7 separate regions of the Homo sapiens genome follow, and all the other regions are linked to region 2. The links are contacts of gene promoters, found by promoter capture Hi-C in blood cells and fetal thymus (Javierre and others, 2016). All regions are on one chromosome and are shown on one strand. The core of a region is centred on a gene start or on the middle of the fragment in contact, and the rest is flanking DNA. Distances in the headings are between cores, read along the strand shown.

Region 1 (3,250 bases), core at 297-2,796, 460 kb before region 2:
CACTTAGGGAAAATAGAAGAGAACCTATGTTGAAATACAGGGGGCTGGTTCCCCCGTTAGACATAGGCCTGCAGTTTCGTTTTCTGATGCGTCTTTGTTTGGTTTTGGTATCAGGGTAATACTGCCCTCGTAGAATGAGTTTTAAAGTATTCCCTCCTCCTATTTTTCAGACTAGTTTGAGTAGGATTGGTACTAGACCCTCATTAAATGTTTGGTAGAATTCAGCAGTGAAGCCATTCAGGTTCTGGACTTTTTACTGGGAGACTTTTCATCACAACTTTTATCTTATTACTTGTTATTGGTCTGTTCACACCCTGGGTTTCTTCATGGTTCAGTCCTGGAAGATTGTACGTATATAGGAATTTATCCATTTCTTCTAGATTTTGCAATTTATTGGCATACAGTTGCTCACAGTAGCCGCTAATAATCCTCTGAATTTTGTGGTATCGGTTTTAGCATCTCCTTTTTTCATCTCTGATCTTTTGGGGTCTTCTTTTTTCTTAGTCTGGCAAAAGATGTGTCAGTTTTTGTTTTGTTTTGTTTTGTTTTATCTTTTCAAAAACCCAACGTTTTATTGATCTTTTGTCCTGTTTCTTCATTTCAATTTCATTTATCTCTGCTCTGAGCTTTGTTATTTCTTTTTTTCCACTAATTTTGTTTGGCTTGCTCTTGCTTTTCCCTTTCTTTAAAATCCATCATTAGGTTTTTATTTAAAGTTTTTCTTCTTTTTGATGTAGGCACTTATAGCTATAAACTTTCCTCTTTGTATCATTTTTGCTGTATCCTCATAGATTTTGGTATGTCATGTTTCCATTATTAATAAATTTTTCAATTTCTTAATTTCTTCATTGACTCACTGGTCATTCAGGAACATATTATGTAATTTCCATGTGTTTGTATGGTTTCCAGAATTCCTAATATTGATTTCTGGTTTTATTCCATTGTGGTCAGAGAAGATGCTTGATATTATTTGAATTGTCTTCTTTATTTCCAACCTGTTTCTTTGGCTCTAATATTTGCTTTATATATGAGTGCTCCAATAGTTAGGTGCATATATATTTACAATTGTTATATCCTATGCTGAATTGACCCCTTTATCATTATATGGTGACCTTCATTGTCTCTTCTTATAGTTTGTGTCTTGAAATCTATTTTGTCTGATAACTACTAGAGAATATCTTTTTCCATCCCTTTTTTTGTCTGTGTGTGTCTTTATAGGTGAAGTGTGTTTCTTGTGGGCAACAGATCACTGGGTCCTGTTTTTCTATCCATGCAGCCTCTTTATGTCTTGTGATTGGAGAGTTAGTCAACTTACATTCAATATTATTACTGATAAGTAACGACTTACTCCTGCCATTTGTTTTTTGTTTTCTGGTTGTTTCGTAGTCTTCTCTTCCTTCCTGTCTTCCTCTTAGTAAAGGTGATTTTTTTCTGGTGTTATGACTTAATGTCTTGGTTTCTTAATTTTTTGTGTATCTGTTCCATGTTTTTTGATTTGAGGTTACCATGAGGCTTGCAAATACTATCTTATAACCCACTGTTTTATGCAGATAACAATTAACACTGCTTGTATAAATAGGCAAAAAGAAAACTAATAAAACTCTGCACTTTAACTATGTCCCCCCACTTTATAGCTTTTTGTTGTTTCTATTTATATTTTACTATCCTTATGTCTTGAAAAAATTATAGTTATAATTTTTTATTGGCCCCTTTTAATTTCTCTAATTAAGGCTAGTTTACACACCAGTTATCATGTTATAATATTCTATGATTTTCTGTGTACTTATATTGCCAGTTAGTTTTACATCTTCAGATGGTATCTTTTTGCTTATTAATCTTTTTCTTTTTTATTGAAGTACATACCCTTTAGCTTTTTTTAAGACAGAGTCTCACTCTGTCACCCAGGCTGGAGTGCGGTGGCACCATCTTGGCTCACTGCAACCTCCACCTCCCAGGTTCAAGTGATTCTCCTGCCTCAGCCTCCTGAGTAGCTGGGATTACAGGCATGGACTATCTATCATGCCTGGCTAATTTTTGTTTTTCAGTAGAGACAAGGTTTCATCATGTTAGCCAGGCTAGTCTTCAACTCCTGACCTCAGCTGATCCACCCACCTCAGCCTCCCAAAGTGCCAGGATTACCGGTGTGAGCCACTGCACCTGGCCAGCTCTTTAGCATTTCTTGTAGGACAGGTCTGGAGCTGATGAAATCCCTTGGCTTTTGTTTGTCTGGGAAAGTCTTTATTTCTCTTTCATGTTTGAAGGATATTTTCATTGGATATAGTATTCTAAGGTAAAAGGTTTTTTCCTTCGGCATTTGAAACATGTCATGCCACTCTCTTGGCCTGTAAGGTTTCTACTGAAAAGTCTACTGCCAGCCATATTGGAGCTCCATTGTATGTTGTTTCTTTTCTCTTGCTCCTTTTAGTATCCTTGCTTTATCCTTGTCTTTGGGAATTTTATTATTAAATGTCTCGAGTTAGTCCTCTCTGGGTGAAATTTGCTTAGTGTCCTATAACCTTCTTGTACTTGGATATTAATATCTTTCTCTAGGTTTGAGAAGTTCTCTGTTATTATTCCTTCGAATAAACTTTTTACCCCTATCTCTTTCTCTACCTCCTCTTTACAGACAATAACTCTTAGATTTGCCCCTTCAAGGCTACTTTCTAAATCCCGTAGGTGTGCTTATTTTTATTCTTTTTTCTTTTGTCTTCTCTGATTGTGTATTTTCAAAAAGCCTGTCTTCAAGCTCACTAACTCTTTCTTCTGCTTGATCAACTGCCGTTTTTTGTTTTGAGATGGAGTCTCGCCCTGTCACCCAGACTAGAGTGCAATGGCACGATCTCGTCTCACTGCAACCTCTGCCTCCCAGGTTCAAGCAATTCTCCTGCCTCAGCCTCCTAAGTGGCTCAGATTACAGGGATGTGCCACCTTGCCCGGCTAATTTTTTGTATCTTTAGTAGAGGCAGGGTTTCACCATGTTGGCCGGGCTGGTCTCGAACTCCTGACCTCATGATCCACCCTCCTCAGCCTCCCAAACTGATGGGATTACAGACATAAGCCACCACACCCGGCCGATCAACTGCTTTTAAGCCATTATGATGCATTCTTCAGTATGTCAATTGCATTTTTCAACTCCAGAATATCTGTTTAATTATTTTTAATTATTTCAATCTGTTAAATTTATCTGATAGGATTCTGAATTCCATCTCTGTGTTATCTTGAATTTCTCTGAGTTTTCTCAACACAGCTG
Region 2 (3,119 bases), core at 408-2,907:
AATACTGTTTTAAGGAAGGTATTTACTTAATCTTCCCAATAACCTGAGATAGGCATTATTATCATCATTGTCATCTCTGAGTCACAGATGAAGAAACTAAGGCACAGAGAAGTTTAGTAATTTTTCCAAGATCACACAGCTAGTGAATAGTAGAGCCAGGATTTGAACGCGAGACACCGGCTCTTTAACCACCATCACATGTAGTGTCACCCTTATTGTGTCACTCAGTTAATGATAAAGAACTACTGCACTTTAATGCTTCTTCTCTATACCAGACTCTCAGAAATTGATACATACTAAAGTATGCTTTCAAATGTCAATCATTTCCTATAAGTGCCTAACATTTTAAAGTAATAAAGTGTGATTTTGAGCTAAGACTGGTAAACAAAGTGTGCTGCAGCCACAAGCGTACTGCGCTTTAGCCTCTATCTAGTTCAAGAACCACTTCCAGAGGATATGAGTGAGGCTTACAGGCGTGTGCAGGTAATTCTCCCTGCTCAACTGAGATTACCATCATTAGCTCTGGTCCATAAAGGGAAAACTAAGACACAAAAGCCACATTGATGTTCTAGGCCACACAGCCAATTGCAGTGACTAGAAGAAAGAAGCCTCCCCGGGCGGCGAAGGTTGCAGTGAGCTGAGATCGCGCCACTGCACTCCAGCCTGGGCCACAGAGGGAGACTCCGTCTCAATTTAAAAAAAAAAAAAAAAAAAAAAAAAGGAGCCTCTGAGGGGCCCTCTGGGACTGCAGTAGGTCACACATGCTCCCTGCTTATTAGCATAGAACGCCCCGGTGATTCATGCAATGGAATGTTTCAGCCAAGGATGTCACCTAATAGAGGATATGTTGATACAGCTTTATCTGAGAAGTTACATAATCGTCCTAGTGTGGAAATGCCATAAAGGAATTTCTGGCTTGAATAAAAGAGGTGTGTATCCCCTGGGAAGTACTCCACAAAGGGTATGAGGAGATTTTCAGTGAGAAGCTGACTACCCCAGACTGGGCAAGTGACTTGTTAAAAACAGGGCTCAATGGAGGCTCTCTGAGGACAGTGACTGCGCCCACTTTGATTTGGTAAGGCTTTGACTCCTGCTCGAGAGAGTCCAGGGACCCCTAGACCTGCCTGTCCTTCCACAGGGAAGAGCGACCTTTCTGTATCTAGCCTCCTGGGATAGAAAGGTCCCTACCTTGAGTCCTCTCTGCTTCGTTCTTTCAGGTCACACATTTATTTCTGCAAGCCTTCAGACCTTCCATTCTCTTTCTGCCCTAGAGAGCAGAATGAATCCTTCCCCCGATTTTGTTGGAATTCTCTGAAAGAAATCCTGCCAAGTCTCCCACTCTGGAATACCACCCCCAGCACCCAATCTTCCCTCGACCTCGCCTCCCATCGCCCCACCAGCGCCCAGGACGTGGCAGGAGGAAGGAGGCTGGAGGGAGGGGCGCGGGTGGCACGAGCACCTGTCACCTGACCGGCTCGGGCCCTCACTTCTCCAGCCCCGGCCCTGCCCACCCTCTGGCCGGTGAGAGCCGACAGGGCCCCCGCCCTCCCGGACCCGGACAGGCCCGTCCCTCCCGCCCCGGCCTCCGCCACCGTCCAATGGCCGAGGGGCAGGGCCCGCTGAGCAAGCCGCGGCAGCCCCGCCGGGTCCCCGCCCTGTTCCCGGTTCCCGAGCCGGGCCCCGGAGGCCTTTAAATGCTGCCCAGGGCCGACGCGGCACGGCCCTCGCCACTTTTCTTGGTCGGGCAGCGGCAGCGGCAGCGGCAGCAAGCAGCCCCGTCGGCCCGGGTCCGGGGCCGTTCTGGGCCGCGGCAAGCACCTTCGCCCTCCCAGCTCGCGCTGCCTCCCTCCCCTCCCCTCCTCCCAGGCTCTGCCTGCCAGGTCGGCGCCGGGCCCCGGGCGCGCGCGCGCGCGCCCCCTCGTGTGTGCGCGCGCCCGCCGCCAGCTCGGACCCGCGCCCCCGCCCCCGCCCCGCGCAGGACAGCCCCGGGATCCCCGCCCGCGCGCCGCGTCCCACGTACCCCGCCGCGCCGGGCAAGAAGATGGCGGGATCAGTGGCCGACAGCGATGCCGTGGTGGTGAGTGTGGCAGGGCGCGCGCGAGGCGCCCCTCCCCGCCGTCCCGCACTCCGCCGCCGCCTGCTCCAGCAGTGCTGGGGTGCTGAGCAGCCGCAGGCCCGGCCGGCGCCCGGCGCGTGGGAAGGCGCCCGGTACCTGTTAGCAGCCGCTGGCTGCGCGCGGCCGGTGTTAGGGGCTGGAGAGGCTCCCGGGCTGCGGGGCTCTGGGCTGGGGAGGGAGTTTGGGGAGGATGGCGGGTAGGGACGCCCGACAGCCCCCTCTGTGCCGTGCAACCGCCAGCCAGGTGTGCGCGTGGGTGAGTGTGTCCGGGGCGCGCGCCCCGCCACCGCCCCCGACGTACCGGGGATTCCCCCTTGGAAATGGGTCGGCGCCCGGGGCTCCCGAGAGAAGTTGAGCACGGCCGCTGCACTTCAGTCACGTCCCGAAGGACAGGCCTGGCCCACCGCGCTTCCAGAAGCGTTTACGGTTGGAGAGGGGCCTGCCCTCCTCCGGCGTGGGGCTCTGGCTCTTCGGTGGACCTCGACCTTGATTTTGATCTGGATCTGAAGGGTCTGCGGATCTTCAGAGGCTTAACTACCGGGTGGAAAGGATGGGTTTTGTTCGGGGGTGATGAGATTATCTAAGAGACGGTGAAGAGGCATCATCTGCAGACACTGTGTGCATGTGGAAGGCTGCTGGATTCCACCACATCTGTGTGGGTTCTTCCTCCAGCCCCCCAAAAAAGAGCCCATGGAAAGCCAATCTGTGTACTTCTATTTTTAGAAACTAGATGATGGCCATTTAAACAACTCTTTGAGCTCTCCAGTTCAAGCGGACGTGTACTTCCCACGACTGGTAAATGATTTTGCTCTGTGTCTCTGCCTGTACCTTCCTCCTTTCTCATTGCTTTTTAAAATTTTATTCATTTGTTTATTGCATTTTCCAGTGGGTCAGGCCTTCAGGGTCTGAGGTCTTGGCTTTTCCCTAACAGGCTGTAAAATTCATTTTTCTTCTCCCACCCTTTTCAGATAGTTCCATTTTGTGGGCACATTAAAGGTGGCAT
Region 3 (3,349 bases), core at 343-2,842, 510 kb before region 2:
CTTTCTTTGTTTTAAAAGTCCAAATACAAGAGATATTAGTCTTTCCTGTTAAAATAAAAGTATGTAACTTGACATTTTAAATATGAAGTAATTTTACTTAGAGGTAGAAATATTCAGCATCAAGAGTTCTGTTTGATCCTCAGATCTCTATCCTGCACAAAGTATTTTCTAGCAGCCTGAAAACCCCTCCCACAGCAATCTTATCATGAGATTTTTGGAGTCAGTGCTGTAAAACAGATAAATCCTACCCCACCACAGTGAACCAATGAAGCTGGTTTTCGGGCAAAACAATACAAGGGTATTTTTTGTTCTAGTTTCAACAAGTAAAAAATATCCTTCTCACACCCTGATGACCAATAAATACTCCATGGGCCCTGTGGGTTTTTTTTGGTTTTTGCTTCTTTGTTTTGAGACAGCGTTCCACTCTGTTGCCAAGGCTGGAGTGTAGTGAGGTGATTACAGCTCACTGCAGCCTTGATCTCCCAGGCTCAAGTGATCCTCCCACCTCAGCCTCCCGAGTAGCTGGGACTAGAGGCATGCACCACCACACCTGGCTAATTTTTAAATTTGTTTTGTAGACTCACTGTGTTGCCCAGGCTGGTCTCAAATTCCTGGGCTCAAACGATCCTCTAGCTTCAGCCTCCTAAAGTGCTTGGATTATAGGCCTGACCCACTGCACCTCACCCATGCTTTGTAATGCATAGTCTAGAAGACTGAAATAATGACCTAGACTCTCACAGTGGGAAGTCAACTGCTAACATCTACAAAAGTTTCTTTACTTAGGCAGTTATCAGGGTTTCTGGGATTTTTTACTAGTTGTTGTCAGTGATTAACACTGAGAAGTTACCAGCTAAGTGAAGCCTGGATATTATGTATTTGTATATACATATATAAAAAACATGTTCATAATAGGTACTCAGTAAATTTGAATGACGGGTAATTACCATATGATAATGATCACTTTTTCGGTTTTTTTTTTTTTTTTTTTTTGAGACAGGGTCTTGCTATGTCACAATCATGGCTCACTAACAGCCTCAAACTCCTGGACTCAAGTGATCCTCTCGCCTTAGCCACCCAAGTAGCTGGGACTACAGGTGTGCATGCACCACTACACCCAGCTAATTTTTTTATTTTTCGTAGAGATGGAGTCTCCCTGTGTTGCCAAGGCTGGTCTCAAACTCCTGGGCTCAAGCAATCTTCCCACCTCAGCCTCTCAAACTGCTGGGATTACAGGCATGGAGCCAATGCGCCCAACTATGATCACTTTTTATAAAAGACAAGCTCCAGCACTCGCACACATAAACACAGAATATAAATTAATTCATCCTATATCTGTATTTTTAACTTGGTCTGTAAGCTCATTTTAACTCTAATTTCTAATTAAGCTATACAATTATTTTATTCTCTAATTCCATAGGATAGTGAACAATCATGGTGCTTGCTCAAGTCACATAGCTAGTGAAGGACTTCATAGGTCTGATAGCCCTTGAAATTTAAGATAATTTTGATTCCTATAATCTGAGAAAAATGTGTTCTAAGCCAAGACTGTTAAGCAATGGCATCAACTTCATTCCACAGTTAAAACACATACCTCTTCTAAAACTTGACAGTCATCTTCCAGTGGTCTATTTAAGTCACTGTGAGAATAAGTAGAAAATTCTGCAATCATCATTTTATCTATCAGTTTTTCTAATTCACAAAGCTGTGATCCCAAATGCCTAAAAAGGAAGAGAAAAATGTTATATTTATATTCACTAAAAACTACAAATTCGCTCCACAATCAAGGGAACTAGTAGGTAAAACTTTTTCAGTTGACAGTACCTGTGCAATAATGCAATGTTTTCAAAAAATGAAGTCCTTTAACTTACCAAAATAACTGCAAACATTTCATCTTCTAAATTCCATTTTTCTCTTTACAGTTGACCCTTGAACAACATGGGGGTTAGAGGCACCAAACACCAGTGCAATCAGAAATCTGTGTATAACTTTTGACTCCCCAAAAATTTAACTAATAGCTTATGTTGACCAGAAGCCTTACCAATAACATAAAGTCAGTGAACACATTCTTTTCTATATTATGTGTACCATATACTATATTCTTACAATAAAGCTAGAGAAAATATGGTACTAAGAAAATCCTATGGAAAAGAAAATACATTGACTATTGATTAACTGGAATCAGATCATCATAAAAGTTATCTTCACATTGAGTAGGCTGAGGAGGAGGAGGGAGAGGAGAGGTTGGTCTTGCTATCTTAAGGGTGGCAGAGGAGGTGGAAGTGGAGGCAGAAGAGGCAGGCACACTCAGTATAACTTTACCGAAATGCACTGTAATTTCTGACTTTACTTTTGCATTTCTCTAAAAATGTTTGTTTCTATATGGTACCAATCCTTCTTTCACCATTTGCTTTAGTTTCAGTGCCCATAGAAGAGTCCATGTCATAAAAGAAGTCAAAGGAAGTCTTGAATAATGGGAACTCTGCTGCCAGATTGTCTAATGTCATCTTGTTTTCTGGCACTGCTGCTTCTATCTCTTTTTCCTCATTGTCTGGCATTGGTTTGAGAACACTCATCTCCGTCAAGTCATCTTCTGTTAATTCCTCTGTTGTGGTACCTATTAGCTGTTGAATTTCTCCAAGATTCTTATCTTGAAATCCTTCATTCCTCACCCTTGTCACATCCACAATCTCTTTCATGATTTCCTTGATTGTCTCACAGCATCTGCACACAGTTTTCTCTAACAGGAATTTATTGTTTCGGGCTTTATGGTCTTCACAACTTTTTCTATAACAATGACGGCATCTTCAATGGTGTAATCCTTCCAGACTTTCGTGATGTTCTATCGGGGTTCTCTTCCATAGCACTGATAATCCTTTCCATAGAGTAGTGTGTGTAATGAGCTGTAAAGGTACTTATGACTCTCTGATCTAGAAGCTAGATTAGAGATGTTGTGTTTGGGGCAAGGAGATCATTTTAATGCCTCTGGTGCTGAATTCATGGGGTTCTGGGTGGACAGGGGCATTGTTCAACACCAAAAGTACTTTAAAAGGCAGTCTCTTATTGGCAAGGTACTTCCTGACTTCAGAGACAAAGCATTAATGGCACCAATCCAGAAAAAGGGTTCTCATCCAGGTCTTTTGTTGTATAAGCAGAAGACTGGCAGCTGTTATTTATCTTCTCCCTTTGAAGCTTGTGGGTTAGCAGCTTTATAGATAAGGGCAGTCCTGATCAGAAACCTGACTTCATTTGCACAAAACAGTAAGAGATAGCCTATCCCTTCCTGTCTTAAATCCTGGTGCTCACTATCTCTTCCTTGCTAATAAATGTTCTTTGTGGCTTTTTTTTTCCC
Region 4 (3,182 bases), core at 430-2,929, 440 kb before region 2:
TTGGGGGAATGTCCAGTTCTTTCTCAGCTCTGCTAGCAAAATGTCAAATACATACATATATACAAGAATCTAAACAATTCTAACTTCCAAAGTCCCATTTCTTGCTTTACATGGCCACGCTGTGGTTCTTGAGCCACACATCCTAGAGATTCAAGCTTCTAATCTCCATGTTTCCTCATCTGGTTGCTGCCAACTAATAGCGAGGTAAGCAGGAAGTAAGCTGATGACCTTTAAGATCTTTTCCCTGATATTCTAATATTCAATGACAAAAATGCCCACTTTTACTTATTGATTCCGAGCTGACCAAACTACCTCTTGAGGTTACTGAAGCCATTCATGCCTTCTCCAACTTTATGCTGAATACAACCAAAAAGTGTATCAGTTATTTACAACATCACTTTTAATATTGGTGATCAGTTGCTTATTCCCTAGCTCAAATAAAAAATTTTAACATGTACACTGATTTTAAAGGAAAAGCTTTTCAAGAAGCTATGAGCCAAGAAGCATTATATGAAAGGCCCACATTAGGCCAATATTGAGACAGAAAGTAGACTAGTGGTTGCCTAAAGCTGGGGGTGGGGTGAAGAGAATGGGGAGTAACTGTTAATGGATAAAGGTTTTTTGAGGGAATGATGAAAATGTTCTAAAATTAGATTATGGTGATGGTTGCACAATTATTTAATCTAAAAACCACTGAATTGTATATTTTTTTTTTTTTTTTGAGATGGAGTCTCGTTCTGTCACCCAGCCTGTAGTGCAGTGGTGCTATCTTGGCTCACTGCAACCTCCACCTCCCAGGTTCAAGCGATTCGCCAGCCTCAGCCTCCCCAGTAGCTGGGATGACAGGCGCTCACCCCCATGCCCGGCTAATTTATATATTTTTAGTACAGACGGGGTTTCACCATGTTGGCTAGGCTGGTCTCGAACTCTGGACCTCAGGTGATCTACCTGACTAGGCTTCCCAAAGTGGTGGGATTACAGGTGTGAGCCACTGAACCCGGCCAAGTGGTACACCTTAAATGGGTGTATTTTATGGTATGTTAATTTTATCTCAATAAAGCAGTTTTTAAAAAGCAAAGAGCAGGAAAGAGGAATTGTAATTAACTTTTGTTGATTAAAAAAAAAAAAAAAAAAAAAAAGAGTGTGATGGGCCGGGGCCGGGGCGGTGGCTCACACCTCTAATCCCAGCACTCTGGGAGGCCGAGGCCGGTGGATCACAAGGTCAGGAGTTCAAGACCAGCCTGGCTAATATGGTGAAACCCCCGTCTCTACTAAAAATACAAAAATCAGCCAGGCGTGGGGGCGCCTGTAGTCCCAGCTACTCAGGAGACTGAGGCAGAAGAATCACTTGAAGCCGGTAGGCGGAGGTTGCGGTGAGCCAAGATAGCGCCACTGCACTCCAGCCTGGGCAACAGAGCAAGACCCCGTCTCAAAAAAAAAAAAAGAAAAGAAACAAAAAAAAAGAGTGTGATGAAGAAATTCTGCAAAATTTGCCGTTTCATGGGCTATATAGGAATTGACTTTAATTCTGACACAAAAAATTATCTTATCCAGAAATCAATTTTAACTTTCCAGAAAATATAAGCATATGCAAAAGTAATCACCTTTTCCTAGTAAACTTTTAGTATTAAATTCTAATTTCAAAAACACTTCAGAAAGCCAAATGCTGTAGTAACAATACTTCTACAAGAACAAAATATACGAATATCAACAACAAAACAGTCTTTACGATTTGGTTGTGATGCATTCTTTATTTTAAAAACCCATTAAAACATTTTTCATTTATTTAAAAAAGTGATCCTCAGACTGCCTCTTAGATTGGTAGTGTAATAATTCTTAAGTTATCAGAACATAATTTAAAAATAGCCAAATTACAATAAAATCGCAAACATCTACTGTCGTCCCAAACAACTATCAATTACAGCTACTGGTAACCTATCATAAGCAATGATGAGCACTACGAACCATCAACATCCATTTCTAGGAAATCCGATTCTGACTACACTACAAATACAGTCAAACAAATCCCATCATTCCCTCTGTTCCATCATTTAACTGCTTAGAAATCATTTAGGCTCTGAAGGTGCTTTTTCCAATTAGAACTCCCCTTCGGATTTATAAAAGTGAATGTACATCAAAATCTGCAGTTTAGGTTATCGCAGTAATATTTCTCGGTATACTACAAGTAATTTATCACGGTATTACTTAAAGGCGTTTAGTATTAAGACCGCCCTTGATTTGACAAATCAGAAATACAGCCAATTAAAAACAAAAACAGTCCAAACAATTTAATTCTTCGAAAGAGCCTCAATAAAGACCAAAAAATAAAGCTGGTTAGAAGAAAAAAATTTTTTTTTGAAACGCCTGTCAGTCAAAATGCTAAAAATACCATCTTGAACTCAACACATGAACAGACCAAACGGCTAATTATAATTGGCAAGCCAAAGTTCCCAAGTCAACGACGGGAGAGCAGAAACGGCAGAGAGGGCCTGCCCTTTCTGTCTATGCAGAGATGGAAGGAGGCAGAACTGAAGAAAATTATTGCACAAATTATTTCAAGCTACATTGCCAAAATGCAAAATACTGAGTAACTCTTTGGGTTAGCCTTCCCCGGAGAGAAAAACAAACAAATGTTTTAACGATTCCAGTAGAATCCAATAGGACTAAGGGCCTGGCTGGAAAAAGAAAAGGAAAGTTTGGGGGCAGCGTCTAAGGGGGTGATGGAAGTTCCAGAGCTGGGATCCCGGAAAGATAAGAGAGGGGCAAGAGCGGCGTTTGCGGTCGCTGACAGGAGGCAGGGAACACAGCTGCCAGCCCCGATCCCGGAGGGAGAGTGAAAAGGAAAAAAAAAAAAAAAAAAGGAAGTGGCGGAGAGGAGCATGGAAGCTTCAGTGCCGGTCAGCTGTGACCGAAACTCGGTCCGTTTGGGGCTGGGGAGGAGAGCCGAGGGGGTGGGGTCTCGGTCCCTCTCTCCGCTGTAGGTCGGGGTGAGAGTGGGCTGAGACGCGCGGGGGGCCGCGGGGCACACCTACCTGCGGGTCCCGGGGCAGCCGCCCTGAGCGAGGCCTAGTGCATCGCCGCCGCCTCCAGCCCTCCACGTCGCACCGAGGCTGCTGCTCCACGGCCGCCGCCGCCCGGCGCCCGGCCGGGCCCGAGCCCGGGTTCCCGCCCCCGCCCCGCGC
Region 5 (3,417 bases), core at 251-2,750, 410 kb before region 2:
TCTAGGTTATTTTTTAAAATCTTTGGCCAGGCGCAGTGGCTCATGCCTGTAATCCCAGCACTTTGGGAGGCTGAGATGGGCGGATCACAAGGTCAGAAGTTTGAGACCACCCTGGCCAATATGGTGAAACCTCGTCTCTACTAAAAGTACAAAATTAGCCATGTGTTGTGGCGGGCGCCTGTAGTCCCACCTACTTGGGAGGCTGAGGCAGGAGAATCACTTGAACTGAGGAAGAAGAGGTTGCGGTGAGCTGAGATTGAGCCACTGTACTCCAGCCTGGGTGACAGAGCAAGACTCCGTCCCAAAAAAAAAAAAAAAAACTTTGCCAGTTGGCCAGGCAAAAAAAAGTCTTTTACCACTATTTGAAGTGTGTTTTCTTTCTTTTTTTTTTTAAATTGATCATTCTTGGGTGTTTCTCGGAGAGGGGGATTTGGCAGGGAAGGTCAGCAGATAAACAAGTGAACAAAGGTCTCTGGTTTTCCTAGGCAGAGGACCCTGCGGCCTTCCGCAGTGTTTGTGTCCCTGGGTCCTTGAGATTAGGGAGTGGTGATGACTCTTAACGAGCATGCTGCCTTCAAGCATCTGTTTAACAAAGCACATCTTGCACCGCCCTTAATCCATTTAACCCTGAGTGGACACAGCACATGTTTCAGAGAGCACAGGGTTGGGGGTAAGGTCACAGATCAACAGGATCCCAAGGCACAAGAATTTTTCTTGGTACAGAACAAAATGAAAAGTCTCCCATGTCTACTTCTTTCTACACAGACACGGCAACCATCCGATTTCTCAATCTTTTCCCCACCTTTTCCCCCTTTCTATTCCACAAAACCGCCATTGTCATCATGGCCCCTTCTCAATGAGCTGTTGGGTACACCTCCCAGACGGGGTGGTGGCCGGGCAGAGACGCTCCTCACTTCCTAGATGGGATGGTGGCCGGGAAGAGGCGCTCCTCACTTCCTAGATGGGAGGGCGGCCAGGCAGAGACGCTCCTCACTTTCCAGACTGGGCAGCCAGGCAGAGGGGCTCCTCACGTCCCAGATGATGGGCGGCCAGGCAGAGACGCTCCTCACTTCCCAGACGGGGTGGCGGCCGGGCAGAGGCTGCAATCTCGGCACTTTGGGAGGCCAAGGCAGGCGGCGGGGAGGTGGAGGTTGTAGCGAGCTGAGATCACACCACTGCACTCCAGCCTGGGCACCATTGAGCACTGAGTGAAACAGACTCCGTCTGCAATCCCGGCACCTCGGGAGGCTGAGGCTGGCGGATCACTCGCGGTTAGGAGCTGGAGACCAGCCCGGCCAACACAGCGAAACCCCGTCTCCACCAAAAAAATACGAAAACCAGTCAGGCGTGGCGGCGCGCACCTGCAATCGCAGGCACTCAGCAGGCTGAGGCAGGAGAATCAGGCAGGGAGGTTGCAGTGAGCCGAGATGGCAGCAGTACAGTCCAGCTTCGGCTCGGCATCAGAGGGAGACTGTGGAAAGAGAGGGAGAGGGAGACCGTGGAGAGGGAGAGGGAGGGGGAAGGGGAGGGGGAGAGGGAGAGGGAGAGGGAGAGCTGAAGTGTGTTTTCTTTATGAGTAGGTCCTACTTGTAGCTAAGGCTAAGTGGCATTCTGTTTCCTTCCTTTTGAGTTCCTAGATTAATACTTGATGAAATTACAAATCTTCTATATAAACATATGTATTAACATCTAGATTCTGGACCTAGAGAGAATTTAAAAAATTGTCTTCATTGTGCAGTAACAGAAAAACTGAATTATTAAGTGCTTGCCTGAACAAGTGCGTATGACTTCCTTATTTCTATGAATGCCCCTAGTAATGTTTGACCCTTTCCTCCATATTCAGTCAACAAATTAATTAAATTAGACTCTACTTAGGCTTCATATCTGTTGTTTCCTTTCCATTCTTGCTCTTACCATTCAAATGTTGCTGTTGCTTTCAGGAAAATTTCGATAGATACTTCCAAATTACTCTTCCAAGGGATTTTATATGAACTTATATTTCCACCAATAGTGTAGAAGAATGTGTCTTCAAACTGTCAACAACAGTTGGGAGTGACAAATTTTTTATCATTATCAATCTAATAGGTGAAAAATGGATGGCACTTCATTGTGATTTTGATTTGTATTGCTTATGTATGTAGGCAGAATATATTTCTGCCTAAATCTCATTAACTAGCATTAAGGGTCATATGGACAGGCTCAGTGCCAGGGGGCTAGCAATGCCAACATTTCACTTTGTAGCCTTTACAATGGAAGGCAGGGAGGAAGGGAGCTGGAATGGATGCTAAAGCCATCAACATTTTTTTCATTTATGACTTTTGGGTTTTATGTCCTTTTCTACACTAAGACTAAAATTGTACCTGTGGGTTTTTTTTGTAGCTTTTTATTATAAAAACATTCTTCCAAAACACAAAAGTAGAGAGAGTAGAATAGTGAACTTTCATGTAACTATCACAGCTTGAAGAATTATTAGCAGTCTATATTTTTGTTTCATCTATCCCATGCCTAATTATTTTTCTGAAGTTTTCTAAGAAAATCTCAAGTATCATACCATTTCATTCATTAATATTTTAATGTTTCTCTAACAGGTAAGGCCATTTTATTGATGTGTAATATATACATTAAAATATATGGCTCAGCCAGATGCATGTAATCCTAGCACTTTGGGAGGCCTAGGTGGGAGGATCCCTTGAGTTCCAGGAGTTTGAGGCTACAATGAGCTACGATTGCACCACTGCACTCCAGCCTGGGTAACAGAGTAAGACCCTGTCTAAAAATATATCTATATTGCTCAAATAATTTTCACAAAATGAAAACACTCATATAACCACATCCCATATTAAGAAATAGAATATTACCACACTCTAGAAGCCCCCTTTTCATCTTCTTGCAGTCACTACTCAAAGTTAAGCACTATCTTGACTTCTATCAGTTTGAATCAGTTTTTCCTATTTTTGAACTTTATGTACATAGAATTGCATTACAAACTTTACATATATAAATGGTATCACATTGTTTGGTGTTTGGCTCACTTTACTCAACATTTTGTTTGTCAGACTTATCCATGTTGTCATGTGTAGCAGTGGTTTGTTCATACATACCGTATTTACTATAATCTAGTATGTAGATTATCTATATGCTATGAAGACTCTCTAGAGTATTTCATTGTATTAATATACCATAGATTTTAACTCTACTGTTAATGGGTATTTGGGTTGTTTTCTTTTTTGGCCATTGAAAATAGTGCTGCAGCCAGGTGCAGTGGCTCACGCCTGTAATCCCAACACTTTGGGAGGCCAAGGCGGGCGGATCATGAGGTCAGTAGTTCGCGACCAGCCTGACCAACATGGTGAAACCCCGTCTCTACTAATTAGCAGGGTGTGGTGGTGCACACCTGTAATCCCAGCTACTCAGGAG
Region 6 (3,376 bases), core at 566-3,065, 420 kb after region 2:
ATAACCTCAAACTCCTGGGGTCAACCGATCCTCCTGCCTCAGCCTCGCAAGTAGCTGGGGCTACACCACATCTGGCTGATCTATTTTTTTCTGTGTGATAAATATACATAACATAAAATCTACCATTTAACCATTTCCCAGCGATGCAATTCAGTGGCAGTAAGTTCATTCCCATTGTGCAACCATCAATATCTTCCAGCACTAGAATTTTTTTTTTTTTTTGAGGCAGAGTCTCACTCTATTGCCCAGGCTGGAGTGCAGTGGCATGATCTCGGCTCACTGCAGCTTCCTGCCTCCCAGGTTCAAGCAATTCTCCTGCCTCACCCTCTCGAGTAGCTGGGACTACAGGCACATGCCACCACATCTGGCTAATTTTTGTATATTTAGTAGAGACAGAGTTTCACCATGTTAGCCAGGCTGGTCTCAATCTCCTGACCTCAAGCAATCTACCCACCTCGGCCTTCCAAAGTACTGGGATTACAGGCGTGAGCCACCACGCCATGGCTAGGACTTTTTAACCATCCCACACTCTGAAACTGGGTGCATAACTCCTCGCTCTGCCTCCCATTGCCATCCCAACCCTGGCAACCACCGTTCTACTTTCTGTCTCTATGAATTTGGCTGCTTTAGGTAGCTCATGTAAGTGGAATCATCCAATATTTGTCCTTTTGTGTCTGGCCTATTTCACTTATTATAATATGTTCAAGGTTTGTCCATGTTGTAACATATGTCAAAACACAAAATTACAACGAATCCAGTTTAAGGATCTTAACTGACTTTATTTGTGATTCTAAAATTGGGCAATACTTCATTCCATAAAACAGAATACATGTTTTGGGCCGGGCGCAGTGGCTCACACCTGTAATCCCAGCACTTTGGGAGGCTGAGGCGGGTGGATCACTTCAGGTCAGGAGTTTGAGACCAGCCTGGCCAACATGATGAAAACCTGTCTCTACAAAAAATACAAAAATTAGCTGGGCCTGGTGGCATGGGCCTGTAATCCCAGCTACTTGGGAGGTGAGACATGAGAATCGCTTGAACCTGGGAGGTGGAGGTTGCAGTGAGTTGAGATAGAGCCATTGCACTCCAGCCTGGGTGACAGAGCGAGACTCTGTCTCAAAAAAAAAAAAAAAAAAAAAAAAAAATACATGTTCCGATGAGCTGAGCAGAGAGGTTGGCCTTACAGACAGAAAAGAACTAGCGGGAGTGGAAGCAAAGAGCCAAGTGTATTAGTCACTTAAAGCTACTTTCCTTGTAAGGCACAGACAAGGAGATCGAAAAAATAGAAAAATCACTGATCAGTGAACCTCAGGTTATGCCAGGCTACCTTTTGTGTGCAAGGATTAAGGCAGAGGGAACTTCATTATCCTGTCTATTGAAGATTGAAGCTGGCCTGTTTGGGAAATTGGCTGTTATCTCTCTCTCCTGATTTCTCAGAACTATAGATAATAATTTAGGTTTAGTGATGTGAAACTTTAGCATGGGTGACTCCATTTTGACTTTAACTCTGGTCTTACTGGGACCTAGTGCAGAAGCTTAGCCCAAAAAAATGGCCTATCAATTTTATTTAACACGTGTTAGAATTTCATTCCTTTCTTCCTTTTCAAGGCTGAATAATATTTCATCATATGTGTACAACACAGTTTGTTTATCCAGTCCTCCGTAGATGGACATTTGGGTTGTTTTCACCAAAAGGTGAATCAAAAGGCTTCACCAAAAGGCTGCTGTGAATAGTGCTGCTGTGACTATCAATGTACAAATAGCGGTTCGAGTCCCTGCTTTCAAGTCTTGTGGTGGCTAGTCCATTTTCAGAAAGAAAACAATTAGCAGGCTGAGAACCCAGCCCGGGTGCAGAAGACGCTACGGCAGCACGTTCTTGTTTTTTCCATCACATCCGTTGAGTCTCCTCTGAGGCCAGCAAGCCCCTCACCTTTTGTCCTCCCTTGGTGCTCCAGCCCTTGGCTCTTGCTGCTCATCTCCATGGGGTCAAGGCCCTGGGAACCTGTGATCCTAGATCCGTCATTGAGAACAGTGGGGAGCTATAAGGTTCATGGTTATCTCTTCCATATTCTTCAGAGTTGTGCATCATTCAAGCAAAGCTTTTTTAATACTAGTTGTATCTTTCAGCATGATTTCAATGTGTTTTTGTCCCGAAGAACCCATTTCCCACCAGAGGCAGAGCATGGAAGGACTCAGTGTACGCATGTCACTAGGAATTTTTTGGTTGGGAATGGGCACATGGCCTCAGCTGGCTCACTCAGGCTGACAGGAAGGAGTTTTATTTCATGGCTGGGCAGGATGTTCCCTTTTTTCTCTGGAAGTGTTTCACTTGATATTGATCAAAAGAATGCTAGCTGAACCGTGAACAAAGCTGGCACCTGGAGACGAAGGCGGGGCTGAGAGAATAGCAGGACGTGTTCCTAGAGCCTTAATCATACAATGCCTGAAGCCCACCCTATCCAGTCTACCTGTGAGGAAGCTAATAAACTGCCTGTAATTTAAATCTGGTTTGCTAGGGTTTCTGATCCTCAGGGTCAAAAATATTCTAACAGACTCAGTCTGCATGGTGTTAGGGTTTTGATTTTCACCCCAAGAGGAGTGGAAAGTCATTAAGAGATTTCAGCAGGGCGAGTCCAGGGAGGGGTGACAAGATCAGGTCTGCATTTCAAAGCAGGACTCTGGCCGCAGGGTGGAAATGGGTAGTGGCTGGGATGGTTGTACTTGGGGGCTACTGGGCTAGCTCTGGGGAGAAGTTGTAGAGTAGGACAGAGGGGAACAGATCTGGAAGTTTTTAAGGAAGTTAATAAGGTTGATGAGACTTGATGACGGTTTGTGGGGATGGGGAGTGGGGTGACCTCTAGGCTTGTGGCTGGCTCAACTGGATGAACAGGGGTGCTACCCACCATGACAGGAATATGGTTGAGAAGAAGAGATGGAACACCAAAAGTGTCAGGTTCCTGGAGGGACTGGCCTTAGGTGGGAGTGGCGACAGCTAACATTAGTTTAGTGCTAGCCATGAACCAACTGTGGCCCAAAGTGCTGTACGTGTGTAAATTTATTAAGACAATGACCTTACGCCCATTTTACTGATGAGAAAACTGAGGCACCGAGAGGTTAAGTAATTTGCCCAAGGCCACACAACTGATTAGGAAATGGGAGTTGAATCCAAGCAGTTTGGTCCCGTGAGGTTCCCAAGGAATATATGTGCTGAGAAGGCTCCCATGAGCAAATGGCATGTAATGTCTGTAACACTATTATCTGGGGCTTGGGCCCCCAACTCCAGTGCAGAGAAAACTCTGGGAAGCTAGATTTTGATTCCCAGAACAGCCTCCCTTTTCTAAGTCAGTTAGGCCTAAATGGCTTCTGACGAAGCAGC
Region 7 (3,288 bases), core at 550-3,049, 390 kb before region 2:
AGCTGCTACTCTCTAGACCAGAGTTTCTCAACTTATAAAAAGAAATTTGCCCCTGTAAGGAGATATTTTTAGATATTTTTTGCCCCTTATCACCACCTGTCCCTACATCCCCATGAAACCTTAATTCTACAGGTACACAGTATATCTGTGTGTCTACTGTGGCCCTTTGGAGGAATAACCTAAGATTATTTCACACACACTCCCTACCCCCACAAAAACCAATTTTCACCCCCACTGAGAATGCTTGCCCCAGGGCTATGGCTGAGTACCCAAGGAAGGAACAAATTCGGAAGAGCCCTCTCTTCAAGACTGACTTCACTGGAGTCACTTCACTCGGATGTAGCTATCACCTCCTAGATGGTAAAGAAGTTCACCGAGGTTCTGCAAGTCAGCGTCAGGATGCAAGAAACCACCTTCCGGGTTGCCTGTGAGACTCCCTGGGCAGCTGAGCACTTTTGGGATTCCTGCACCCACTGGCTGCCAAGTACCCCAAGAGAAGGAAAATCACATGGGAACAAAGAAGAGAGAAGCACTTTCCTCCTGCAGTGGCCTCCCAGCCCTGTAGACAAAGCTTAACATTCTGCCAGCTGCAAAGGAGAAATGTTTACAGGGCCCAGCTCCAGCATCACAGAACAGAGCAGTGCAGAGATTTGGAGCTGAGAGGAAAGAAGTTGATGCATCAAAGAAATTCTTTTAAATGAAGTGTTCTAATTAATTTCTGTCTAACCAAAGTTTTATGATGCCAAGGTTTTACCACACTATGGAGGATGCACCTCAAAACACCAAGGAATTTGTAAAAATGCAGGGCATGGCTGGGCGCTGTGGCTTACGCCTGTAATCCCAGCACTTTGGGAGGCTGAGGCAGGCAGATCACCTGAGGTTGGGAGTTCGAGACCAGCCTGACCAACACGGAGAAACCCCATCTCTACCAAAAACACAAAATTAGCTGGGCATGGTGGCATATGCCTGCAATCCCAGCTACTAAGGAGGCTGAGGCAGGAGAATCGCTTGAACCTGGGAGGCCGAGGCGGGCGGATCACGAGGTCCGGAGATCGAGACCATCCTGGCTAACACGGTGAAACCCTGTCTCTACTAAAAATACAAAAAAATTAGCTGGGCGTGGTGACAGATGCCTTTAGTCCCAGCTACTCGGGAGGCTGAGGCAGGAGAATGGCATGAACCTGGGAGGTGCAGCTTGCACTGAGCTGAGATTGCGCCATTGCACTCCAGCCTGGGCAACAGAGCGAGACTCCATCTCAAAAAAAAAAAAAAAAAAATGCAGAGCATATGCTTAGTAAAGCAAATTGTTATTATATGTTGTCATTTATGTGTGAAGTTTATGTCTTTGACCCACTGTCAGTGGGACTTACACTTGAAGTTATTTTCTTGAGAATGAAAATGAATGTCTGATTTATCTATATTTTCCCTCCAAACAATTCAGCCAGAGAATATGCTGACTAGCTGATATCAGTCTTATTTCTTTGACAGTAACATTTCTCAGCATAATTGAATGAACATTTTTATTTACCAGTAACTCTGTTTGTGAGGTTGACAAGTAGATCAATTCATTGGAACCTGATTATTCTTGGGTGAAAAGATGAAATTGAATTTCTGTATCACAGAACTAAGGTCTAAACCTCAGAGGAGAGGTATAAGTCACTGTAACAAGGAAGCCTGGCTTGGCCAGTGAGACTTCTCCAACTACCAGATACCACACGACCTAAGGGTAATGTCTGCTGCCAAGCGATACAGCAAAGATAGCTCATAGACCTTGTTTAAAATTTTGCCTTAGACCTTTTTTGAAATTTGCAACAGTGCTAACTTCTTGCATAAGCCCACAGTGGCATGTCCTATAGATGCCTCGATTTATGCTTCTAGTTTGGATTTTGGTGTGAAGTGGCTTGCTGAGATGGGGTATGTGAATCAAGCTCTCTCGGATTCAGTTTCATTGCCTGTAAAGTGAGAAAGTTGGAAAACATTATGTTGAATAAGAATTCTCTGATGTAATAAAAAAGCAACTTTAGGCTGGGCACAGCAGTTCACGCCTGTAATTGTAGCACTTTGGGAGGCCAAGGCGGGTGGATCACTTGAGCCTAGGAGTTCAAGACTAGCCTGGGTAACATGGTGAAACCTCGTCTCTACAAAAAAATGTAAAACTTAGCCAGTGTGGTGGTGCATGCCTGTAGTCCCATCTACTCAGGAGGCTGAGGTGGGAGGATCACTTGAGCCCAGAGGTCGAGGCTGTGAGCCAAGTGAGCTGAGATTGTGCCACTGTACTCCAGCCTGGGTGACAGAGCAAAACCCTGTCTCAATTAAAAAAAAAAAAAAAGCAACTTTATTTTTGTCCCTATTTTCCCTTTGCATATATAAAGTCTATCCATCTATCTATCTAGACATCTATAGATATGTTCTAGTATGAAAATTCTGGCAAGCCCTTAAATTTTCTGGCTTATAATGATTGCTATCACTATAGACTATCACTTTCAATTACAAACACAGTCTTGATACGGAGATTAGAATGTCCAGTGTAAGATATTAATCAGGCTGGGTGCGGTGGCTGACACCTGTAATCCCAGCACTTTGAGAGGCCAAGGTGGGTGGATCACAAGGTCAGGAGTTCGAGACCAGCCTGACCAACATGGTGAAACCCTGTCTCTACTAAAAATACAAAAATTAGCCTGGCGTGGTGGCACACACCTGTAATCCCAGCTACTCAGGAGGCTGAGGCAGGAGAATCGCTTGAACCCGGGAGGTGGAGGTTGCAGTGAGCCGAGATCACACCACTGCACTCCAGCCTAGGCAACAGAGCAAGACTCTCATCTCAAAAAAAAAAAAAAAAAAAAAAAAAGAAATATATATATATACACACACACACACACATACACACACACACACACACACGTATATATATACACATATATATATAAATACACACACTCCAAATCTGGTAAGATATTAATCAATACTCCAAATCTGATTTTAAGGATACATCCTCTCCACTCTTCCAGCCCAAGACTGCTTCACTCTGAAAGCTTGCAGTGGGAAAGGGAGAGATGTGGATGGCTCTTCCTCAGCGCTTCTTGTGGAGTGAATGGGGGTGTCATTATGCTCCTCCAGATTCCTCTCCACCCTTTTCTACCTCCCCCTCTGCCCCACTAATGTGAATATGCTCCATCTCCCTTTGGCTTCAAGTTAGTTTTGGCCAATGAGGAGCTCTGGCAGAAAAGCGAGAAGTGCAAGATCAAAGTTTTTATTTCCTTGGCTTTTTCCTAGAGAGGTTGACTCTAG

The links. The method cuts DNA at HindIII sites, captures the fragments that hold promoters and counts their contacts. A CHiCAGO score of 5 or more calls a contact.
Region 1: a fragment that was not itself captured here is called in contact with the fragment with the promoter of LGALSL in region 2 in 1 of 17 cell types (neutrophils); the score reaches 6.8 in neutrophils.
Region 3: a fragment that was not itself captured here is called in contact with the fragment with the promoter of LGALSL in region 2 in 1 of 17 cell types (activated CD4 T cells); the score reaches 5.4 in activated CD4 T cells.
Region 4: a contact is called between a fragment that was not itself captured here and the fragment with the promoter of LGALSL in region 2, in 2 of 17 cell types (neutrophils and megakaryocytes). The highest score is 5.7, in neutrophils.
Region 5: a contact is called between a fragment that was not itself captured here and the fragment with the promoter of LGALSL in region 2, in 8 of 17 cell types (M2 macrophages, neutrophils, activated CD4 T cells and 5 more). The highest score is 9.1, in M2 macrophages.
Region 6: a fragment that was not itself captured here is called in contact with the fragment with the promoter of LGALSL in region 2 in 8 of 17 cell types (M0 macrophages, total CD8 T cells, M2 macrophages and 5 more); the score reaches 7.3 in M0 macrophages.
Region 7: a fragment that was not itself captured here is called in contact with the fragment with the promoter of LGALSL in region 2 in 2 of 17 cell types (M0 macrophages and neutrophils); the score reaches 5.2 in M0 macrophages.

The regions. Positions count from the first base shown.
Region 1 is chr2:63,997,087-64,000,336 of GRCh38, forward strand. All of the region lies in intron 1 of VPS54 (VPS54 subunit of GARP complex), which reads right to left. Among named protein-coding and RNA genes, the nearest start is that of VPS54, 21 kb to the right of the region's middle. The HindIII fragment of the contact is 9,532 bases long and covers 1-3,250 here.
Region 2 is chr2:64,452,505-64,455,623 of GRCh38, forward strand. It overlaps LGALSL (galectin like), which reads left to right and starts at 1,658. Exons shown (of 5, transcript NM_014181.3): 1 at 1,658-2,077; 2 at 2,840-2,911; 3 at 3,085-3,119. The coding sequence starts at 2,042. LGALSL-DT (LGALSL divergent transcript) reads right to left here and starts at 2,374. Exons shown (of 3, transcript XR_002959392.2): 1 at 2,021-2,374. RefSeq lists silencers at 1,415-1,834, 1,845-1,914, 2,005-2,304. The HindIII fragment of the contact is 9,168 bases long and covers 1-3,119 here.
Region 3 is chr2:63,947,446-63,950,794 of GRCh38, forward strand. VPS54 (VPS54 subunit of GARP complex) reads right to left here. Exons shown (of 23, transcript NM_016516.3): 8 at 1,592-1,718; 9 at 1-45. Among named protein-coding and RNA genes, the nearest start is that of VPS54, 70 kb to the right of the region's middle. The HindIII fragment of the contact is 3,189 bases long and covers 1-3,187 here.
Region 4 is chr2:64,015,906-64,019,087 of GRCh38, forward strand. It overlaps VPS54 (VPS54 subunit of GARP complex), which reads right to left. Exons shown (of 23, transcript NM_016516.3): 1 at 3,033-3,182. Among named protein-coding and RNA genes, the nearest start is that of VPS54, 1.9 kb to the right of the region's middle. RefSeq lists an enhancer at 2,707-2,776 and a silencer at 2,937-3,182. The HindIII fragment of the contact is 2,409 bases long and covers 476-2,884 here.
Region 5 is chr2:64,040,976-64,044,392 of GRCh38, forward strand. No RefSeq gene overlaps it. Among named protein-coding and RNA genes, the nearest start is that of VPS54, 23 kb to the left of the region's middle. The HindIII fragment of the contact is 6,176 bases long and covers 1-3,417 here.
Region 6 is chr2:64,876,856-64,880,231 of GRCh38, forward strand. No RefSeq gene overlaps it. Among named protein-coding and RNA genes, the nearest start is that of LINC01800, 15 kb to the left of the region's middle. The HindIII fragment of the contact is 564 bases long and covers 1,534-2,097 here.
Region 7 is chr2:64,058,012-64,061,299 of GRCh38, forward strand. It overlaps LOC124907774 (a long non-coding RNA gene), which reads right to left. Exons shown (of 2, transcript XR_007086337.1): 2 at 1,507-1,952. Among named protein-coding and RNA genes, the nearest start is that of VPS54, 40 kb to the left of the region's middle. The HindIII fragment of the contact is 2,461 bases long and covers 570-3,030 here.